2 separate regions of the Homo sapiens genome follow, and region 2 is linked to region 1. The links are contacts of gene promoters, found by promoter capture Hi-C in human tissues and cell types (Jung and others, 2019). All regions are on one chromosome and are shown on one strand. Each heading gives the region's core, a stretch centred on a gene start or on the middle of the fragment in contact. The rest is flanking DNA. Distances are from core to core; before and after follow the strand shown. Region 1 overlaps AGO3 (argonaute RISC catalytic component 3). Region 2 holds the start of TFAP2E (transcription factor AP-2 epsilon).

What was found. Contacts are between HindIII fragments. The study calls those that stand out against the background at their distance.
Region 2: the fragment with the promoter of TFAP2E here is called in contact with a fragment that was not itself captured in region 1 in 2 of the 25 tissues and cell types used here (H1 embryonic stem cells and liver).

The regions. Positions count from the first base shown.
Region 1 is chr1:36,066,286-36,069,620 of GRCh38, forward strand. It overlaps AGO3 (argonaute RISC catalytic component 3), which reads left to right. Exons shown (of 19, transcript NM_024852.4): 19 at 1-3,335. Among named protein-coding and RNA genes, the nearest start is that of TEKT2, 16 kb to the right of the region's middle. The HindIII fragment of the contact is 8,465 bases long and covers 1-3,335 here.
Region 2 is chr1:35,571,559-35,574,891 of GRCh38, forward strand. TFAP2E (transcription factor AP-2 epsilon) reads left to right here and starts at 1,756. Exons shown (of 7, transcript NM_178548.4): 1 at 1,756-2,046; 2 at 2,369-2,851. The coding sequence starts at 2,020. It overlaps TFAP2E-AS1 (TFAP2E antisense RNA 1), which reads right to left. Exons shown (of 3, transcript NR_183387.1): 2 at 2,802-3,140. RefSeq lists enhancers at 1,720-2,219, 2,461-3,207. The HindIII fragment of the contact is 7,667 bases long and covers 1-3,333 here.

The DNA of each region.
Region 1 (3,335 bases), core at 568-3,067:
CACGGTGGCTCACACCTGTAATCCCAGCACTTCGGGAGGCCGAGGCAGGCTGATTACCTGAGGTCAGGAGTTCGAGACCAGCCTGGACAACATGGCAAAACCCGTCTCTACTAAAAATACAAAAATTAGCCAGGCATGGTGGTGGGCGCCTGTAATCCCAGCTACTCGGGAGGCTGAGGCGAGAGAATCGTTTGAACCCGGTAGGCGGAGGTTGCAGTGAGCCGAGATCATGCCACTGCACTCCAGCCTGGGCGACAAGAGTGAAACTCCGTCTCAAAAAATAATAATAATTTTAAAAATAAAAGACAAAACTTTCATCTTTATTTCATGGCTTTATTTCATCTTTATTTCATTTTTGGTTGGGAAAACAAACAAAAATCTCTTAAGTTAGTCCTTTAATAGTCTTTTTAGAACCAAAGAAGGAAAGACTGCAAAAATGTTGCATACGTGACTCTTTATTGTCAGAATCTGTAGAAACTGGAGGTCTTTGTAAAGAAATAGACTAGTAGGATTGTGAGAATATATAGTGAGGGGGGATTTAGGATAAGGCTTCCTTGCTGGGATCCTTGGACAGAAACCTTACAATTGTTTAATATTTGCAGAGTAAAAGAGCAGCTATTGCTATTTGAACCTACAGAAGAGACCTAAGACGAGCGTCTCTGTAATCTAAATTTATATGATAATGTTGTCCCAGACCCAAAGGCACACCTATTCTCAGTAACTTAGAGAAGTCTTGGAAGTTGCTTCTGAATTACAGTAAAGAAATTAAATGAAGTCTTTATCCTTAAATAGGGCCAGGCATTGCTATCAACATAGTGTCTTTGGTTTTCCCCTTTAAATAGAAAACACCAAGCAGGGCCTTTCCAGACAATGTAGTCTTTCCTGTAAAGAAAATGGTTTTGGTGTGGGATTTGGTAAAAACACTGGTTAGTTTGTAATGAAGAAAGAATTTTGGCATAGACAGTCCGACCCAGTTCATGGATACAGTTTGATCCCAGGGAGTTTAACAAAAGGAAGCTTTGGTTTTGCTAGCAACAGACTTGATCTTCTATAGTAATTAATTGCAATTAAGGTTTTCCAGGAGCTTTCTCATTTCTTAGCCCAGGGTCCAACCCCATTCCCTCTTTAAAAAAGAAAGAATAGGCCGGGAGCAGTGGCTCATGCCTGCAATCCCAGCACTTTGGGAGGCCAAGGCAGGTGGATCACAAGGTCAGGAGTTTGAGACCAGCGTGGCCAATATGGTGAAACCCTGTCTCTACTAAAAATACAAAATTAGCTAGGCGTGGTGGCAGGCGCCTGAGGCTGAGGCAGGAGAATCCTGCTAGTCTGAATTACAATAAGGAAATTAAATGAAGGATTTATCTTTAATAGAGCCAGGCATTGCTATCAACATAACATGTTTGGTTTTCCCCTTTAAATAGAAAACACCAAGCAGGGCCTTTCCAGACAAGGTAGTCTGGAACCCAGGAGGCGGAGGTTGCAGTGAGCCGAGATCCCACCATTGCACTCCAGCCTGGGTGGCAGAGTGAGACTCCGTCTCAAAAAAAAAAAAAAGAAGGAATAGGAAAAGGACTTAGAGGCAGTTGATATAGAATTCTACTGGGGGTAAATGACACTCTCAAAATACTTGGGAAAGAAGAATCACATGCCACAAGCTATAGCTTGATTAATATTTTAGCATGTTTTCCATGTTTGTATTCTAAAGTTTGTTTCCTTTGACATTCCATTATCTTACTTACTAGAGTGCCACCATTCTTATTTGTAATACAATCAGTGTTTTATGCCATTTGTGAATCACACAATTGTTCTTTTTTCCCCATCACACACACTCACACACAAACACACACACTGTTAAAAATAAAAGAGGGGAAGGATAAAACAAAAATAGATAGAATGATGATTATTACAATGTAACTTTAACATATATGAAGAGAAATTCTAACTCAGTTAAGTGAGAATTAAGATTGAAAGTATTAATGTTGCAAGTATTATCTCTAGCCATGGAATTTTTTGCTGGCTATAGAATGCTAATGTGAACAGAGTATATATCAGGAATATGATGTATTATGGCACAGTGATAATATTATTGTTGATATTAGCCAGATGTGGTGGTTTGCACCTGTAGTCCGAACTTCTCAGGAGGATGAGGCAGGAGGATAGTTGAGCCCAGGAGTTTAAAGCAAGCCTGGGCAATACAGCAAGACCCCAATCTTTAAAATAAATAAATAAATAAGAATTATTCTTGAAAGTAATATTCTAACCTTCTGCCAACCAACAGAGATCCTCATATTCTTAAAGAAAATTAATATAGCTTATGGTTTTGATAAATTGGACTCTGATTTAAACTTTAAAATGTTATGACTTTTATTCTGATACATGGCTTCTAAAATATGTAAAAAATTATATTGAATGAATTAATACTTAACCTGTTCATTTCTCTTAATTTATGTATTTATTCTGACTTTATTATACAGCTTATGTCTCACATCTGCCTTCTTGATATGTGCAAAATATTGTGTAAAAATAGTTTAAAACTCATCCCAGTTCCTAGTCAAGCGTGGGCTATAAGAGAGAAGGCTTAAGGTGTTCTTTAATGGAGGAACTTTTGAAAGATCACAAATGGAAAAAGCCTATTGAGAATTTATTGCCTTTGAGAGTAGAAAGGGCTCTAGAATATGAGCCAGAGACTTGGAATTTAGTAATAGGTCTCCCACTGATTTGCTCCGTGTCCTTAGGCAATTCGTTTAATCTCTGTGTGCCTAGTTTCCCCTTGTAAATAAGAGTGGTAATACCTGTCCTCACCTACCTCACTAAATTGTTGGAGTTCTTTTGTTCTGAGTCAGGGTCTCACTCTGTTGCCCAGGCTGAACTACAGTAGTGTGATCATAGCTCACTACAGCCTCCAACTCCTGGGCCCAAACTATCCTCCTGCTTCAGCCTCCCAAGTAGCTGGGACTAGAGGTACATGCCACCACACCCAGCTAATTATTTTCTTTTATTGCAGAGATGGGGTCTCACATGTTGCCAAGGCTGATCTCTAACTCCTGAGCTCAAGCAGTCCTCCTGCCTCAGCCACCCAAAGTGCTGGGATTATAGGCATGATCACTAAATTGTTGTAAGAATAAGATAATGTTTGCGGAAGCATTTGAGTTCTCCAAAGGAAAAGCTATTCAGACGTTCAAGATAATAGAAGAGTGTTGTGTGAAGGATTCCTTTCCAGTTTGCCTCTGTGAAAATGTCTTTGTTGTAGATCATTTTATGAAATAGGAATAAGAGAAACATAGGCCTTATCATGGTGTAGTGTTCACTTACAAACATATCCTGTTGTTTCTTCC
Region 2 (3,333 bases), core at 506-3,005, 490 kb before region 1:
CATATATAGATACACACAAACACAATCCTGATCTCTGACCCATCTCGAGCAGGAAAGTTGCAAAGCTTCCCAATTCCGCTTCATCCTCTGGAACCTCGCTGGCGGTTCCAGACTTCAGAAAGTTCTTAATGATGAATCCTTGGCTTCTAGCCTCCTTCTTTCCCCACCACTCCCCAGGCTGAGATCATCCAGCCCTGAGCTCTGCACCTGCCATGTGCCTTCTGGGATACCCACTTGGAACCATATATTCCATGAGTTAATGGTGTCACTATCACCTCCTCTTCTATATCAATAATTTTACCTTAATCTTCTCATTTACTACTTCACTAAAAAGGGACCTAAAAAAACAACTAGTCTTCTCTGCCTTCCCCTACTTTTTTATTGGTGTTGTCGAAGTTGCAGAAACTGAGATCACAGAGGAAACGGGATGTAGCTAGGATCACACAGTTAGGCAGAGTCAGGACTAAATCCAAGCCCCTGAGTCTGAGGCAGTAGAGAATAGTGATTCTGAGCAGAGAGGGGCCAGGGGCAGATCACCCCAGCTCTGCCACTTAGCTGCTTGACCTTGGGCAAGCCATTTAACCTCTCCATGCCTCACCCCTCCCCTGAAAATGGGGATGATATGGGTATCTCTTTCATAGAGCTGCTGTGAGGGTTAAAGAACCCAATATTCGTGAAGCACTTTGCACAGAGGCTGGCACATTCTGTAATAAGTCTGCTGTGATTATTTCTACTTTGCCCTGGTCTGCACATCTTGCTTTTAAAAAACATCTTTCTTCTGCTTTCTTAATTCCTGTTCTCCTTAGCATTCCTCTCATTTGTCCATCTTTAATCCCTGTCTCTGCTTGTCAGGAGGGGAGGGTTGGGTTTGGGGAGAAAGAGAGAGTGACTACAGAGACTGGAACTTGCTTGACAGCCAGGGAGTGCCTGCCATGGTAACACAGGAACATGTAGCCTGCGCATGTTAGTGTAACAATCACACGGCATCCATGCTAGTCAGTTACACACAGTCACTCAACAGTCTCTGGGTATCTCATGCCCACACTCAATCAGCCCAGGACCCTGTGGCTTCAGAAATATCTTGGCCCCTTGTCAGGTGGAGCTCATACCCAAACCCATCCCAGGCAAGTCTCTCTCTCTGTCTGGCCAGCTTCTGTCTCCAACTCCCTCAGAGCCTGGCTTGGCTTGGAAGTTTTCAGCCCAGGAAGCCTGAGAGCGAAGTGGGCACCTTCGAGGGATTTTGATCCAGAACCATTCAGGAAAGACTGTGATGGTAGACCCCCTAAACACACGCACTGACACTGTGTGCGCATGAGCAGATAGGCTGGAGTCTTCAGCTCACAAACTTCTTCCACGTTCCCGATTACCCACCTCATCCAAAGTCTCTTGAGGTGCTTAGAGAAAGGATTGATACCTATTTTACCGAGGAAGCTGAGGCCAGCGAAGAATAGTGCTTTGCTTAAAGGCAAGGATGTGATAGAGCCAGGCAAATGTAGGGCCCTTGCGTCCCAGCCTCGAATATTTCTGTTTCACTGCAGCTGCGAGCTGCGAGCCCAGAAGGCGGCTCTGATCAATGTGGGCTGAATTCACGCCCCCTACCCACCCTACCCGATCCCGCCAAAGCCACTGCCTCCCCTGTGGCAGCCGCTGGGGAAAAGGGAGAGAACTGCCATAGCTTGTCTCTTTAATGCGCGCCCCCGGAGGCCCGGCGCGCCCCCGCCACTATAACTGGAGTGCATGGAGCAGGCTACGCTCAGAGGAGGAAGGGCGGGCGCTGGGCACCCGTTGACCGACTTTTCCAAGTGCGATCAGTGCCCGTCCGTCCTGCCTCCATGGACCCGCCCGGGAACGGCCACCGCTGAGGACCCCACGCCCACTAGGATCCCGGCTGGGTCGCACCCAGCTACCGCACCGTGACCTCCGCGGGCTGTGCCGGCTCCCGGCGCCTCTGCCCGCAGCGCTCGCCGTCGGGCTAGGGCTCCGCCGCCGCCACGCCTCGCGCCCGGCACTCACCGCCCCATGCTGGTGCACACCTACTCCGCCATGGTGAGTAGTCTCGGGCCCGGGACATATTCGGCCGGGGGATCGGGGCGCCTGAGTGCTGGACTTTCCAACCCTCCTGTCCCGCGCTAACGAAATCTCGGAGGGAGGGGGCCGCAGGGACTTCGCCAGCTGAGAACGCGATGCGCAAGTGACCGCTGTCCCCAGCCTGAGGCTCCTGCGCCCGCGGGTGGCTCGGAAATAAACCTCGGGCCCCAAGAAACGGGAGGGACTGCAGCTGAACCCTCCCGAGCTGAGGAGGATCCTTTCAGGCTGGGGTCCTTTCAGCTGCCAGTGGGTCACCTAAGGCACCCCTCTCCTTCCCCAGGAGCGCCCCGACGGGCTGGGAGCAGCTGCCGGCGGGGCCCGCCTGTCGTCTCTGCCCCAGGCGGCCTACGGGCCGGCGCCCCCGCTCTGCCACACGCCGGCCGCCACAGCTGCCGCCGAATTCCAGCCGCCCTACTTCCCGCCGCCCTACCCGCAGCCACCGCTGCCCTACGGTCAGGCGCCCGACGCCGCCGCAGCCTTTCCCCACCTGGCAGGGGACCCATATGGCGGCCTGGCGCCCCTGGCGCAGCCGCAGCCTCCTCAGGCCGCCTGGGCCGCGCCCCGCGCAGCCGCCCGCGCCCACGAGGAGCCTCCCGGCCTGCTGGCACCGCCCGCCCGCGCCCTGGGCCTTGACCCGCGCCGTGACTATGCCACTGCCGTGCCCCGGCTCCTGCACGGCCTGGCCGACGGCGCGCACGGCCTGGCAGACGCACCTCTCGGCCTTCCGGGGCTGGCGGCGGCCCCCGGTCTGGAGGACCTGCAGGTGAGACCCGAGGGATCCGGGATGGGTCGGGACTGGCCGCGGTGGTTTACTACCATGGCTGGAGGCAGAAGGTGACAAATGCAGGAAGCCGACTTTTCTCCCAGCTCGCCACATCTCACTGGTGACTCCGAGGATGTGTCCCACCTCCTGGGTTAGACGTTGCCTGGCCATCAAGGCTGCCTGGCACTGAGTCCGCCAGCAGTGCGTGGGTGGCAGCAACCCTCGGCAGGGACCGAATCACTTCTTTTCTCCCCGCTGCCACGTGTGGCATCCATGGGGCAGCCTGCACCTGGGGCGAAGAGAAGCATAATAGTTACCAGTGTAAGATTCAAAATTCCCTTTTTGCACTGCACAGTGAGATGCCCAGGGCTCCAGCTCAGTGCCTGGACATAGCGATTCCTGGGCCTGCCCGTCGCCGCCCCAAGCGAAGCTGGTGCGCCTTGGGCGGAGCAGACAGAGACCCTGGGTGGCAGGGGCTTGGG